5 separate regions of the Homo sapiens genome follow, and regions 2, 3, 4 and 5 are each linked to region 1. Evidence: promoter capture Hi-C in 16 types of primary human blood cells and fetal thymus (Javierre and others, 2016). All regions are on one chromosome and are shown on one strand. Each heading gives the region's core, a stretch centred on a gene start or on the middle of the fragment in contact. The rest is flanking DNA. Distances are from core to core; before and after follow the strand shown.

What was found. Contacts are between HindIII fragments. The CHiCAGO score rates a contact against its expected background, and 5 or more counts as called.
Region 2: a contact is called between a fragment that was not itself captured here and the fragment with the promoter of RAPGEF2 in region 1, in 1 of 17 cell types (non-activated CD4 T cells). The highest score is 6.0, in non-activated CD4 T cells.
Region 3: the fragment with the promoter of NAF1 here is called in contact with the fragment with the promoter of RAPGEF2 in region 1 in 1 of 17 cell types (activated CD4 T cells); the score reaches 6.0 in activated CD4 T cells.
Region 4: a fragment that was not itself captured here is called in contact with the fragment with the promoter of RAPGEF2 in region 1 in 2 of 17 cell types (total CD4 T cells and non-activated CD4 T cells); the score reaches 8.6 in total CD4 T cells.
Region 5: a contact is called between a fragment that was not itself captured here and the fragment with the promoter of RAPGEF2 in region 1, in 1 of 17 cell types (total CD8 T cells). The highest score is 5.6, in total CD8 T cells.

The regions. Positions count from the first base shown.
Region 1 is chr4:159,101,678-159,104,498 of GRCh38, forward strand. It overlaps RAPGEF2 (Rap guanine nucleotide exchange factor 2), which reads left to right and starts at 1,402. Exons shown (of 30, transcript NM_001394067.2): 1 at 1,402-2,554. The coding sequence starts at 2,486. RefSeq lists an enhancer at 552-1,243 and silencers at 892-1,431, 1,562-1,781, 1,822-2,111, 1,860-2,154, 2,122-2,541. The HindIII fragment of the contact is 5,553 bases long and covers 1-2,821 here.
Region 2 is chr4:154,544,677-154,547,497 of GRCh38, forward strand. It overlaps PLRG1 (pleiotropic regulator 1), which reads right to left. Exons shown (of 15, transcript NM_002669.4): 4 at 2,335-2,388; 5 at 1,447-1,537; 6 at 1,160-1,247. Among named protein-coding and RNA genes, the nearest start is that of PLRG1, 4.3 kb to the right of the region's middle. The HindIII fragment of the contact is 1,579 bases long and covers 462-2,040 here.
Region 3 is chr4:163,165,533-163,168,353 of GRCh38, forward strand. It overlaps NAF1 (nuclear assembly factor 1 ribonucleoprotein), which reads right to left and starts at 1,358. Exons shown (of 8, transcript NM_138386.3): 1 at 831-1,358. The coding sequence starts at 1,195. RefSeq lists enhancers at 503-1,370, 862-941, 972-1,091, 1,112-1,311. The HindIII fragment of the contact is 3,845 bases long and covers 1-2,505 here.
Region 4 is chr4:155,369,762-155,372,582 of GRCh38, forward strand. All of the region lies in intron 4 of MAP9 (microtubule associated protein 9), which reads right to left. Among named protein-coding and RNA genes, the nearest start is that of MAP9, 5.8 kb to the right of the region's middle. The HindIII fragment of the contact is 1,698 bases long and covers 601-2,298 here.
Region 5 is chr4:155,942,217-155,945,037 of GRCh38, forward strand. CTSO (cathepsin O) reads right to left here. Exons shown (of 8, transcript NM_001334.3): 2 at 940-1,048; 3 at 101-240. Among named protein-coding and RNA genes, the nearest start is that of CTSO, 10 kb to the right of the region's middle. The HindIII fragment of the contact is 393 bases long and covers 1,148-1,540 here.

The DNA.
Region 1 (2,821 bases), core at 152-2,651:
TATTGGCACTTATTCATGTTCCTTTGCTTTCAAGGTAGTGGCCTATGTCATAGAGAATTTGATGTTGGCGCTCAACTAAGAGGTGAAAGAGAAATATAGAGAAGCAGTTCCAGCAAGAGTAATATAAAAAGGTCTACAGATACAATTTGTAACTCAGATTCCCTTTCACAAGGTTGGGCAGGGACAGTCCCTTTGCTAGGAAGTCACACAAGCTGTTTAGTGCACACAGGTGACTTAAGGAACCCCAAAATGTTAGCTGACAATCTATTCCAAGTGTTTAAACTAGATGTTGAAAATCATGTTTGAAAAGTTCAACGCAGTAGCTCATACATAAAACTCATTGTGTCTATAGATATCAAAATAAGAACTTGTGGGGGGTGGGGGCAAACAAAAATAAATCCCTGGGACCAGAACAGCAGAGTGGTCCCCGATGCTTGGGCTGACCTTAACACACCTCTACGTGGCCGGGGCAAGGAGTGGGGGGGAGCTGAGGGAATCAGCAGGAGCGGTGACATCTTGAAGGACGAGGTATTGTTTCTGCACCATGTGGGTCCGGTTTGGAAATTTGAGCATCTAGAGGAGGAGGCTTGTTCTGTCCAAGGCAAAGCCAGACCTACCAATAAATGTTTCTGATTATGTCACAGAACTTGCCATCCTGGTCTGTCGCTAAGGAGTGATCAACTTTAAATCTGGAGTGTTTGTTGGTCTAGGGGTGGTAGTGGGTCTGGTGTTGAAACCTCTCTGCCTAATTTCGTGGTCATTTTACTGTCTGAGGTGCCAGAGTGGGCTTGGAAAGCAGGGGAGGGTGCAGCAAATTACAAATAAGCAAAATAAATCCTAAGAGGATTTATCGCCACAGAAGCAACTCGGACGCAACTCTTGGGCTCAAAAAGAATGCCCAGTACAGCCCGGGCTGGTGGGCCGGTCTTTTGCCCAAGGTTAGCTTTCAGCCCCTGGGCGGCGGCGTGGCGCCAGGAGCGGGCGGGGAGCAGCGACCCGACGCGGCTGGGTCTCCTAGTAGGGCGCGTCGGGTGTGGGGAGGGGGCGCGGCGTGAGACAGTGGGGGACACTGCGTGAGGAAAGCCCTGCGCTTCTCTCCGGGGCACCAGGACTTGCGCCCCCTCTTCGGGTCCAGGCCGCGCGCGGGACCCGACAGCCCGGCCGAGGGCTCCGCGACCCACTTGCGGCCAGAGCGCTGCTCACCTGGGCGCCGCCGAAGGTGCCGCTCAGACGCGAGGGCGCGGCCGCTGGCGGGCGGGGAGCGGGGAGGCGGGACCCGGCGCGACGGGGCTGCCCCGCCCCCCGATGATGCGGCGGCCGCCGACTCGCCCCCACGCTGTCACTCATTCCTCACCATGGTTGCAGCACAAAGCAACAAGCCCCAGAGGCCGCTTCCTCCCTGAGGAGCGGCTCCGGCGGCCGGAGAAGGCGCAGGAGGAGGAAGAGGCGGAGGAAGAGGAGGGGAATCGCCGCTTCCCAAACACTCTCTCCGAGGGGGCTGTGCGCGGCTCTCGGCTTTCGGCCCTCGGACGCCCGCGCCGGGAGTCCGAACCCGGGCTGTCCGCGGCCCCCTCTTCCCCCTCCTCCGCCCCGCGCAGACGAGGAACAAAGTTGCCGAGAGCGACTGGGCCGGAGGGCTGCAGCCCGGGCCGGGTGCTCTGGCCGCGGCGGCGCCGGCGCCGGGGCAGCTCCGCTCCGGGCGCGCTGATGGGGGGAGGCGGCGGCGGCGGAGCCCACAGCGGCGGCCCGAGCAGCAGAGGCGGCGGCGGCGGCGGCTGGGCGGCCCGAGGGGATGCAGCAGCAGTCGGGAGGGACGGCCGAGCCCAGTAGACAGAGACCAGGAGCGGCGGCCGAGGCGATCGGGCTTCGCAGCGCCCGGACCTGAGCCAGACCCACCTGGTCCGTCCTCCCGACCGGCGGCCGAGGCGCCCGAGGACTGGGGACGCGGAAGATCCAAGTGATTCTCGGAGACCCCTGGGCGGCGGCTGCGCAAGCCCCTGAGAGGAGGGGGCGACCCTCAGCGCCGTGGGGGAGGAGGCTCCGCCTGCCCACAGCCCTCCCCACTGCCACTCGTACCTCCCTAAAAATAACTCGGGCCCGCTGGGGCCAGGAGGAGCCGCCACTGTCCCCCGAGTGGAGCCGGGGAGGCGTGTCGAGCCAGGGCCGGAGGAAGCCGGCGGAGCGGCGAGGAAGAGGAGGAGGAGGAGGAAGGGGAGTTCCGCCTGCGGGCCGCATCGCACGGCAGCCTAGGGGCGCCGCGACCCTCCCGGCTGCGTCCAGCCCCTCGCGCCTGTACCGCGCTCTCGGCCGCCGGGCCCAGCCGAGCCGCCCCCCCGCGGGCCCCGCGCCGCCGCCGCCGCGGTTTGGCTGATTAGTCGCGGGCGGGCGGGCGGGCGCAGCGCGCAGGGCGGAGGCAGCAGCGGCGCTGGGCCGGGAGGAGGCCGGCCAGGGTGCGGAGCGGCCCCGGCCCGCTCCCAGAGGGGAGATGGCGTCCTACGTAGATAACAGCTTCCGCCAGGCGGTGATGAAGAATCCCCCCGAAAGGACCCCCCAGGTGAGAACGCGGCGGCCGCCTGCCCTTGGCCGGATTTCTGCCTCGCAGGCTGCGTCTTCCCCTGTCCCCCCACCTCCTTCCTGACACAGTTCGCCCCGAGCACCCCACTTCTTGCATCAGGACCCCCAACTTCCAAAGGCATCCCACCTCCGAGTCTTTTACTCCGCCTATCCTGGTTTTATTTTTCCCTCTCCTTGACATTCTGCTCCTTAACTCTTCCCTCCCCATGACTGACCTTTCCCACTATGTTGCCCAGCCGAGAGAGAG
Region 2 (2,821 bases), core at 1-2,500, 4.6 Mb before region 1:
CTGTATGTTAACTTAAAAAAGCAATTATAAAATCACAGACAGGCAGAGCATTAGACTTAAGAGCACACATCACTGTGTACGGGTTCAAAACCCAGCTTGGCCAATTACTAGCTGTTTGACATTAGGTAACAATCATGTAACCTCTATGTGGCTCACCTGTAAAATGGGAAGAATAGTGCCTATTTCATAGGGTTACTACAAAGATTTAATAAGTAGTAAATGCTCCATGTAAGCTCCCAATATTAAAGTCATTTTAAGTGTATTAGTGCCACTGTCTTTCATTGTCATATTTTAACATTATTGGTTTAATATAGCAAAGACTGACAGTTCCTTCTATTTATCTTCTAATACAATATTTAAATACTATTTTAACAGGTATACTGCCTGATATACCATCTGTTGTTAGCAGTCATCTAGTCATCCAAAACATAAATAAGCCCATAAAGTTCCTGCCCTCAAGAAGCTTAAATTATACCCTCATAAGGAGGGTAGAGAGCCTGGACAGAAGACGTGCTCTGAATGGAATAAAGGAGGAAAGGAGATGTGGCAGTTACACATTCATTCACTTCATAAAGTCAAATCAATTGCATAATGAGCTGAGAAGCAAAACCAGCACTTATTTCAAGTGGCAGCATATTTTATTATGCTGCAGATAAATCAATAAAATAACTATAGAAAATTCAACAACTATTTCTACCATACTAATACCAGTTGCCATTTACTTACAAACAGATAAACTTATTTCTAAATGCTCATTTATAAGACTAGTTGTATAGCCCATGAATAGTACAACACTAACAGCACTCAAGATAACTGTACACACCAACTTAAAATTTAATAAAAAAAAAAAGACTTTCATATTCAATACATACTAACACAAGTTTCAGAAAAACTCTCCTTGCATTTTTAATAGTGGGCAATAAATACCAACATCACATTATCTTTATCAAAATATATATTACACACAATGTACAAGTAGACAAATAACAGAATTAAATTCCAAAAAATACGTTAATTTACTACCAACTTGAGTTTTAGGGCTATGAAATATGAATGACTAGCTCAGGCTGCTATTTATCTTAATAATTCCAAAGAAGAGGGAAATATGGCAACATGTTCCAAAAGTTAGAAACCTGCTATTTGATGCAGAAAAACTTACTGAATTCATCGCTGTAGGCTGTGGACGGTCAGAAGCCCCAGGATGTCGGTATTCACTTCCACTAGGGGCAGTACGATTTGCATCAGCCCTGGGGCAAAAGAAATAATATTTTCAAAGTAATTAATGCCTCCAGTCATGTATTCTGCAAAACTAACCCTTTATTTTAAATTGTTATAAAGTCCTGATAAAGGAAAATGTCATATAATAGTTATAAAGAAATTTTAAAAAGAAAAAATGTGAACAGTGAAATATGCTTTTAAGATCTTTGTAATTATAATATTTCATACTTGGTCTGCAAAGGTAATGCCACCGCTAAGGACTGTGCAGCTGATTCACTTGGCATTCTCTGGATCTTAGTATCTGCTGTCAAAGCAACCCCTATTAAAATGAAAAATCAACTTCTTTTAGTAGCTGTGTATTATTCATTTACATGCACTTAAAATAAAATGATGAAGGAAAACATACACCAAATGTTTATTATCTCCAGGCAGTGATATTATACAAATTTGATTAAGTTTTGCTCATCTTTGTTTTTAATTTCTACAATAAATACTGCTTAATAACACGTAACTCAAATTTGATTTGATCACAGCCCACATGGTATTAAAGCAGCCCAGAATAGTAAAGTTAATTTCCATTATATTTGGGTATTAGTTTCAAGTCAGTATTAAGCAGTTCCTCAAATACTAACAGAATGTTTCCAAGAGTGGATGTAACTTACTAAAACTAGAAACACCCAATTTCCCTGTACTTTCTTTACATACTAAGCCTTTTGTCCTCTACCCTGTTACACTGGCCACTCCATCTGTGGACCAATGCCTTAATACAGACAGAGGACATGTTTCTCAGATACTGCTTCTAACATTTCCATCATTTTTACAAGCTTAGTGATATTTACATGTCTGCCTAAACCACCAGATAATAAATAACTAGGCCTGCAACAGTTTTACTGTCTTTGAATTCCTAGCACATTGCCTGAAAAATTATACGTACTTAAGAATGTTTGCTGAATGAAGGCATATGAGTATTCATTATTACCTACAAAGCTATGCATGGATGCTTGGCTACTGAGCTTATCTTGCATTTTATAGGCAACAAGAATCTCATTATTGGCTCGTTAGTGAAAATATATGTGACATTTTTAAGACATTTTCAATATATAACAGCTCACTAACCAGGTCCTGGTGGGTATGGATGTGTACCTGCCACAAAGTATTCAACTTCTTGTCCTAAAAAAACACAAAAAAAATCAACAGTAGTGAATTTACCTTATACAAAAGTTATCATCTCTTTAAATGTATCAAGTAATATTAAGTTTTCAACTGGATCTATCAAATTTTCTCAACTAAAGTCAAGCCTCAGAAATAAGGGAAGTTGATCACTTTTGCTTTGATCTCTGTAAACCATGTCCTTGACCATTTGCTATATAGCAATGGTATACAAAGAAGCCCTCCTATCAAGTGACAATCCACTCTGGTATTTCTTCCAAGCAAATGGTTTCCTGTGGAATCTTGAATTCTCTTTACTTATTAAGATTTCAGTATTTAATTTCATCTTTCTGAATTACAGACAAGATAGATGGTGTCCTCACAGGTTAAGAATATTCTCCAATTTTTTCCTTTAATCTCTACTGTGACCTTCTCCACACTCTAAGAATCTCTG
Region 3 (2,821 bases), core at 108-2,607, 4.1 Mb after region 1:
TACATTTCATACCCTCTCCTTCTACTCAAATCCTTCAGCCTTCTTCACTTCCACTCTCCGCTGATGACTTCCCTGAAAACTAAACTTCTCACCTCCTCAACACGTGTCTATCTTGTTAACCTGTTCAGTACCCCACTCAACACACTCAACTATTTGTAGACAATGTTCAGTGTGGTTTAGTAACATCCCACATGCTGGAGTCCTCTCCAGCCCAGAGATTTCATATTTAAAAGACAGGTGTGGGGGCAAGGGGGAAAGGCTCTCACAAAACGTAAGAAGCATAAGATACTACTAAATAACACTGTTTGGCTACTTTCATAAACACGTGTTCCCTGCAAGGATTCTATAAATTAACGTAATCATCAAGAGCCAGCTTTGAAACACAAAAAATAATACTTTTCCTGATCCCCAATGTATGTGGTTCAAAAAACAAAGCCTAGATGTGATGATAAAAAAAAATCAGATCTGACACAAAACTCAACTATAACCACAAAAGTACAGCCTAAACTGAGTAGTTACGGAAATAACCTAAGATCCTCGGGTTTTCTAAAGTCTAACAAAAAATGATACGATCTATACATAGAACCCTTCAGGCCACCAAATTTAGGAAATAAGTCAGTACTAAGCTCAGATTCACAACGCGACCTGCTTTGAGAGGCAGCGAATAAGGGGCAGTCGGAGCCAATACTTCAACACGTGAGCCCGGAGCACCAACGACCTGCCCACCCTCCAGGGCCCACACAAGCAACCTCTAGGCTCCTAGGCCCCAGCCACCCCCGCCCGTCATACAAGACCTCTCCCCACAGCTCCGGGTCCCTTAGGCACCCGACCTGTCCGAGTCCGAATCCGAGTCCGAGGTCTCCAAGGAGTCCGGCGCCCGCGCAGGCTCTGCGGCTCCTGGGGAGGTGACGCAGTCTCCGCAGGCCGGCGATTCAGCCGGTGGCTGTGGCTGCGGCGCCGGGGTCCCGGCCGCGACGGCGTTCAGAACGGGCTGCAGAGGCTGCTCCCCGGCAGGCTTAACCTCCACGGTCTGCCCAGCGTCCGGGGACCCCTCAAACGACTGTAGCGGCGGCTGTGTCCCTGGCACAGGGGCAGAGCCCGGAGACGGAGCCGCCGGACCTTCCCCAACTCCAAAGTCGGTGCCATTGAATTTCAGAGTTTCCAGCTGAGCGGCGGCGGCCTCCACTACCTCCATCGCACCGCGCCAGAAACCGGGTCGGCCTCAGGATTGGGGCCCCTGGACAAGCTCACGGCTCTCTCCAGAAATAGAAAAACAACTTAGGCAACCGCAGCAACACTGCCTGGGCCCAACTTCCCGCGTTTCTCAGGTAACTACACGCGGAGGAGCCAAAAGACACGCCCCCGCCATTTACGCAGCAACGCTTTCCGAAGAGCGTGTGACGTATGTGGCGCGACGGCGCGACGGCGCTCGCGGGGGCAGGATACATGCGTCATATCTTCGAAAATCAGGATTAGGGGGTCGGGCGCCGTGGCTCACGCTCGTAATCCCAGCACTTTGGGAGACCGAGGTGGGCGGATCACAAGGTCAGGAGTTCACAGACCAGCCTGCCCAACATGGTGAAACCCCATCTCTACTAAAAATACAAAAATTAGCTGGGCATGGTGGCGCGTGCCTGTAATTCCCACTACTTGGGAGGCTGAGGCAGGAGAATCGCTTGAACCCAGCAGGCGGAAGTTGGAGTGAGCCGAGACCGCGCCACTGCACTCCAGCCTGGCGAGAAAGCGAGACTCCGTCTCAAAAAAAAATAATCAGGACTAGGGAGGCCCTAAATCGACCGTTTTCACTGCGTCATGTGAACCATTCAAGGCCTGAATGTCGGATTTTCCTATTGCTGCATGTGAACCAATTCTGCTTGAAGCGCCAAAATGAAGCAGGGATTATACAACAGGGGGGTGCCTGAAGAATGCTAAGTTCTGTACATCAGAAACTTGAGCCAGGAAGTCTTGACAAGACGCTAGTAACTTCATGAAAGTTAAATGAAGTTTATCCATCAATAGATCCATCTGTCGATAGATAGGGTATTAACCATTTTTTCAAAAATGTAACTACAACTATTCCATTTTCCTTTCTCCAAAGTACCCTCAAAGAGAGCAGTAATGGACAAAATTTTGCTGTGTTGTTCATGTTATGGTGATGTCTATATCATACTTAGCACTGTTTCGTAGTAGAGAGATGAGACTATGAGACTGAAATGTACTCACTTATTGTTGGAAACCACTAGTCTAAATTGTGGAGAAAGCAAGCAGAGTTCTTAGGACTGAGGAAGAGATCAGAATTTTCTGGTTTCCTATTAGGTCTTCAGTTTGAGGCATCAGTCCCTGTGTAGTAATAATAATCATTGATACCATTTGTTAAACATGCATATGTGCCAAGGACTGTGCTAAAGATTTTATAAATTATTCACTGAGAATTTAGTGTGTCATCTACAACAGTAGATCTTCATAGAAATGCAAGGCAAGTGTAATAAGAGTAAGGTTTTAAGAAGCTTACAATCTACTTGAAGTAGAGAAGGGCAATGCACAGGAGATAACTAGAAAAATATTTGAAATATGAAATAGAAAATCCAAGTGCAGCAGAAATGGGAAGTAGGATTGGTAGGCTATTTCATGGAAATCCTCCAAAGTGAAGAAGGACTTTAAACTTGGGATACGAACTTACTAGCACAATGATTAAGCAGAGCTCAGAGTTTTCAACTAAAAAGACCTGTGTTCAGGCCTCAGCTCTACCATTTTGTGTTTGGTGTTACTGACTTTGGGCAGTTAATCTAAATCCTAATTTCCTTATCTGTAAAATGGAGAT
Region 4 (2,821 bases), core at 200-2,699, 3.7 Mb before region 1:
GTTCTGAGTCCATAAAACTTCTTTAGCATTTATTAAAATTTCACTCTTTCCATTACTTCTAAGTTTAAATCAAGAATCAAATGCTGATTTGCATCCAGTATTCGAAACAATGGGAAGACTTTCCATGTATATATTTTTTGCCTGCATTTTACCTGCTATACATATTTATGTTTCTATTGTTCTACAAATGCATTTTTCTCAACTTCAAAATTGGTCTAATTAACATCTTCCTCCCATTTACCTAAAAATGGGCTTATGGATTCTGCCAGAAGATTCCACAACCATACCAAATTGGTATTATTATAAGTAGCTGACAATTTTAGCTACATCCTAAACTCCAGCCAAATGTTCAACCCCAAATCCAAGGGCTCTAGATTCCTCCCTCTATTATCCCCTAAATCCAGAGTATCAATATATCCTATCAATTCTAATTGCCAAATATCTCATTTATTCCACTTTCTACATCCCTGCTGTCGGGTCCTTATCCACTCTTTCCTAGATCACTGCTTCCATGATATTTACAAAATCCAAATCAGATCACATCACTCCTTTCTACAAAATTATTCAATGGCTCCCCATGATCCAATCCTACAGAATAAAAGCTTAACTGCCTTTAAACAACATAAAACGGATTTTATGGTTTTGTCCTTCACTGCCTTATCTACAGCCATTTTGTCATCTGTGTTTCTGAAATGCTGGGCTAACAGTTGTCATGCACACATACCACAATCCCTCCAATCCCTCCTGCTACCATACCTTTACCTAAGCTGATCCCCCTGCCTAGAATATCCACTTCCTGCTTCTCCTCCTGACAAATGCTTGCATGTCTTTTGAGCCTCAGTTTAAGCAGAATATTATATAATGCCTGAAAGAAGGTGTTGAGTCAATTTTTTTTATTATTGTGGTAAGAACAAACATGAGATCTACCTTCTTAATACATTCAGTGCAAAAGACAGTACTGTTAACTATAGGCACAATGTACAGCAGATCTCTAGAACTTACGCATCCCGCATGACTGATACTTTATACCTGCTGAGCATGTTTATAAACAAACGCTAAATAATAAAATGAATAATCAGAACATTTATAGAGTGCTAAATTTATGCCAGTACTATTCTAAGCACTTCAAATATGTGAACTCATTTAATTGCCTCAAACTCCTAGAGGCAGGCAACTATTATCCCGTTTTTAAAGATGAATAAAATGAGAACAAAGAGGTCTCATGCCCAAAGTCACAAACTCTAGCAGGCTGCAGATCTCAGATTAAAGGAGAAGCATCCTGACTCCAAAGTTCATGATTTCAGTCATGTTAGTATTAAAATAAAAACATATCCTGTGAAAAATACTTTCACTTTATAGAGCAACTGTCACTTCAGTAGTGACTATAAAGTCTGGTTATTATACTTTTTACAAAAGACAAGCAAGGACAGAGAAAACCTTCAAGCTCTAATAGTTTCATAAAGCATTACTTGCTACTCAGCAATATCTCACCACATTAAAAACATTGAGTTCCAAACCTGTACAGAAAAAAAAAAAGTCAAAGAATTTAGAGGATAAACTCATGAACCATATTCCCTCTTTCAAAGATAAATCATTCATATATTAATTTATTCATTTAAATACTTATTATATATGCCAGATATTATCTTAGGAACACTAGCCTCAATTTTTACTTTTCAACCTGAAGAACCTGAGAATGACAACTTTAATATATTTTCTACAAAAATTCCACTTCCAGAAGTACTGTCAAGTTCCCAAAAAGAAAAAAAAATGCCTATACTTTAAGAAAAGCGCTTTTTTTGGTAATCAATGTATACAATTACCTATTTAGGTAATTATTTTTATATTACACGTACTGAATATAACATTGCATATATAAGTAGAGCATTTAGGATCCTGATGCCACCTTGTGGTTAAAATACAGTATTTTCTTATTCATTGTAACCCACCACAGGTTTTTTTTTTTTTTAAGGTATGAAATAGGTGGATTATTGCTTTCCTGATTATCTACCATAAACTTCTAATTATATACATCCACCTGTCTCAGACAAATTTTTAGTTGCTATATATGCTCGCATTTTCTTAATAACGAAGTTCAATTATGTTCCTCTTCTCTCCAGCATTGATTTCACTCACTATACTTAGAAGGTACATTTTAACAAGTTAATTGTTTCATTATGCATCTGTTTGCATTTTTGTAGTTTTTTATAGTTTATGAGATGCACTTCAATAAACTCTCACAATTTTGCAGGAATAGAAAGAGGGTTATTTTTAGCTTCCTCATCATGAGGATACTGAAGCTTAACTTATTTGCTGAAGTCATATATAATATACAGAGGCCTTTCCCCCAGTGTCCTGGATATTATTCTAGTGTTCTTTGCTCTGCTTACATCCTTTGCTCATTTCAAAGTTAATGAGATTGTGGGGTCAGGAAGAAAGGAGCAGTTCCCCAATACATGCCTGAAATAAAGTTTTGTCTGACGTTACCACTGGTATCTAATATGCAAAGTATGAAATATTTACCAGCACTGTATTTACTGATGATATGCAAGGAGATTTTTATGAAGGTTAACATCAACTAATAATTCCTTTATAAAATACAAAGAATGAAAAACAAAAAATCCTTAACCTTGCATATACAAGTTCATGAATGGTGGCCCAGGGTATGTGACAGGACTTGGTCTCCGTTTCATTCTATCTTTGTTCCTTTATGCTTAAAATTCAGTAAAATTGTGGGCAGAACTAACTGTAATCCCAGATCACACCAGGAACTTTCCTTTGGAAAACTGAATCTTAGTAGATTTTCATAGGCAATACAGAG
Region 5 (2,821 bases), core at 94-2,593, 3.2 Mb before region 1:
CTAGAGAAATGATGTTTCCATTACAACTTTGATTAAACTTGACCTCAAAGCTGCCTTTCAATGCTTAGATGATTAGAAAAGAAGAGGGATTTCAACGTACCATCTGCTGGTTTCTCACTTGTGTCACAACCTGCTTGTCCCTCCAGTCAAATCTTAACGGCAAAGACACATTGGGGATGGACATATGTACTTCTGCTGAGTATCTGGGAAACTTGGAAGGTTTGCTTCTTAAATAAATGGCTGAGTAGAAACATAAAATGAAAATACAACCAATATTATATTACAATATATTATATTATATATATCATATATATTTGTTATATATAAAGACAATCAATATTATATTATAGGGAGACAACCAATATTATACTAAAAGACAACCAATATTATATTATATTATATCCTTGAGATTCTTTGGGAGGAACTTTTAAAGAAGAAACAGTAGCCTTCTAGTAGACCTGCTATTTTAGATTTTCTCTTGTGCTTTTCTATAACATAAAATGCATTCATTAAAAACTACAAAAGAGAATTCCTACAATAAGGCTGGAGTTGACACATAAAATGATTTGTTTGATAGAACCAGGTCAATAATAAAAATAAGTATAATTGACATCATTTGTTCTATCATAACCCATGGAACCATGTGTGTCCTGAAGAGAAAAAGCACTAGAAAACTGCAGAAGTGATTAGACAATTATCCTTTATAGCCACATGGAAATGTGCATAATTATAACATTCATTTCTTAAGCAGTAATTAGAAGAGACTGGCCATGAATTTATTTTCTTATGTGAGCACATGGTACATGCCTGACATTTAGTAGACACTTAATAAATGTTAACTATTACTCAATATATTAGATTTACAATGAAATATTTATCAAAAGTTAAGCAAGCAAATTAAAATCAGGAAACCACCTAAATAGCAACATCGGACTATACCTTTAAACTCTTCAGGAAACAAATAGGAAAACTGATTTATTCCATAGAAGGCGGTGGAGTTTTCACTGGGAAATAAAGAATTCAAGTATCGATGTCTATTAAGACTTTCCTAGAAGAAAAACAAAAACTATTTCATATCCACTATGTCAGTTTTCCAAAGTAAACTGTGTATAACTAACTTGGAGAAATTTTTCAATTATAAAGTTAAAGCTTGATTTCCTTCAGACTACAATGTAAAGTTGTATAAGATATCCATAGGAGATTCATAAATATTTTCTATTAGAATTATTATCTAATTGCAGACATTTTTTGAGGCTGAGAAAAGTGTATTTTATTCATTTATAATTCCCCATCACCAGGTTTGTTGCAAGCATTCCATATACAGCTGTTAAAGTATTGACATAGTGGGAAAAAAGAAATAGACTGCAAATAAACACTAGATACTAGAAGCAAATTGTCACCTTTAGACATTCACTCATGTGGTTAAACAATTATGAATATGGAATATGTCCTCTTCACCTTTGTGTTTCCCGGAACTAAGTAATGAAGCATGAAAAACAGACTGGGTAAATAAATTAATAAATCAATCTGATTCTATTAAAGCTTTATAGATATCTCTATCTCATGTAGGGTACAAAGGCTCTGTGACAGATGCAATTCTGGAAATATTTGAAGAAGATAGCCTGGTTTCTCTATCTGGAGGGGAAATGTGACCATTATTTACTGATTTCTCAACTTTGAATTTTGTGACAATTTATCTTAAGCTTATCTTTTATATATAAACATGCTTCAATTTCGTAATACTAACCAATTACATAGAATAAATAAAATTTCAGGGGGCTATCATTTGGTACCTTTCCAACCCTAGCGCTTCTACATATTTGTCTATGTACTTATGTGTTTATTGTGTGTCTGTATCAAAAACCTATAAGCAAAATGATGACTGCTTATATGTCTTATTCCTTATGGTGAGACACTCACTTAGCACATGGCTGACACACAATAGATCCTTGATAAGTGTTTGTTGTTGAATAAATAGATAAGTGACATTTTCCATATCATGCCCTTAATAACTTTAAGCTGTTTATTTTTAAGTAAATTATTGCTGGAAGTTGTCATAATCTTATTTTTTTTCCTTTTGTGCATACCTAGGAAGATTGCTAATCAACAAATTAATAAAGTTTTTGAGGTACTTTAAAATAATCTTGATGAAGCAAGGCTTTCAATATAACCTGGATATATAAATGTAAAAATAGAACTAGAATACAAGGTAATTCTGTATATGGCAAATGACAAATATAAGCCAGAGACTATTAACTGCTAAGGAATTCAGAGGATTCATTCATTCAATAAGTACTGCCTGGCCATCTTTGTGAGCTGGAGTAGTCAGGAAGGCACTGAAAATGTAGGATGTTAAGAATGCACAGGAGAGAATGTGGCAGCCATGAGAATGTGCCTCCCAGCCTTCTTTCTATAGGGAGTTTAGCTGCTGCTAGTTGAAATCTCCATGATCACACCAAGGGAAGCCACAGTTCTTACGGGCTGCACCTAGCTCATGACTTAGTGCTAAGGCTTGCTATTTGGGAGACAAATGGGACTCCCCTGACAGCTGGTTTTTGATTAATGACTCCCTGATGGCCTTGCCAAACCAAAGTTTCCTTGGACTGTGAGACAGCATGGAACTCTTCCCCAGTCTTCCTTCCTTTTTTCCTTCACTCAGGGTCAGAATTACATTGCAATCAGATAGCTCTACCTGGACCTCTCCCTATTAGTTCACAGGAATTGCTCCTGTGATTGATTAAAAAAAAAAAAAAAAAAAGCCTGGGAGCAGTGGCTCACACCTGTCATCCCAGCACTTTGGGAGGCTGAGGTCGGTGGATCA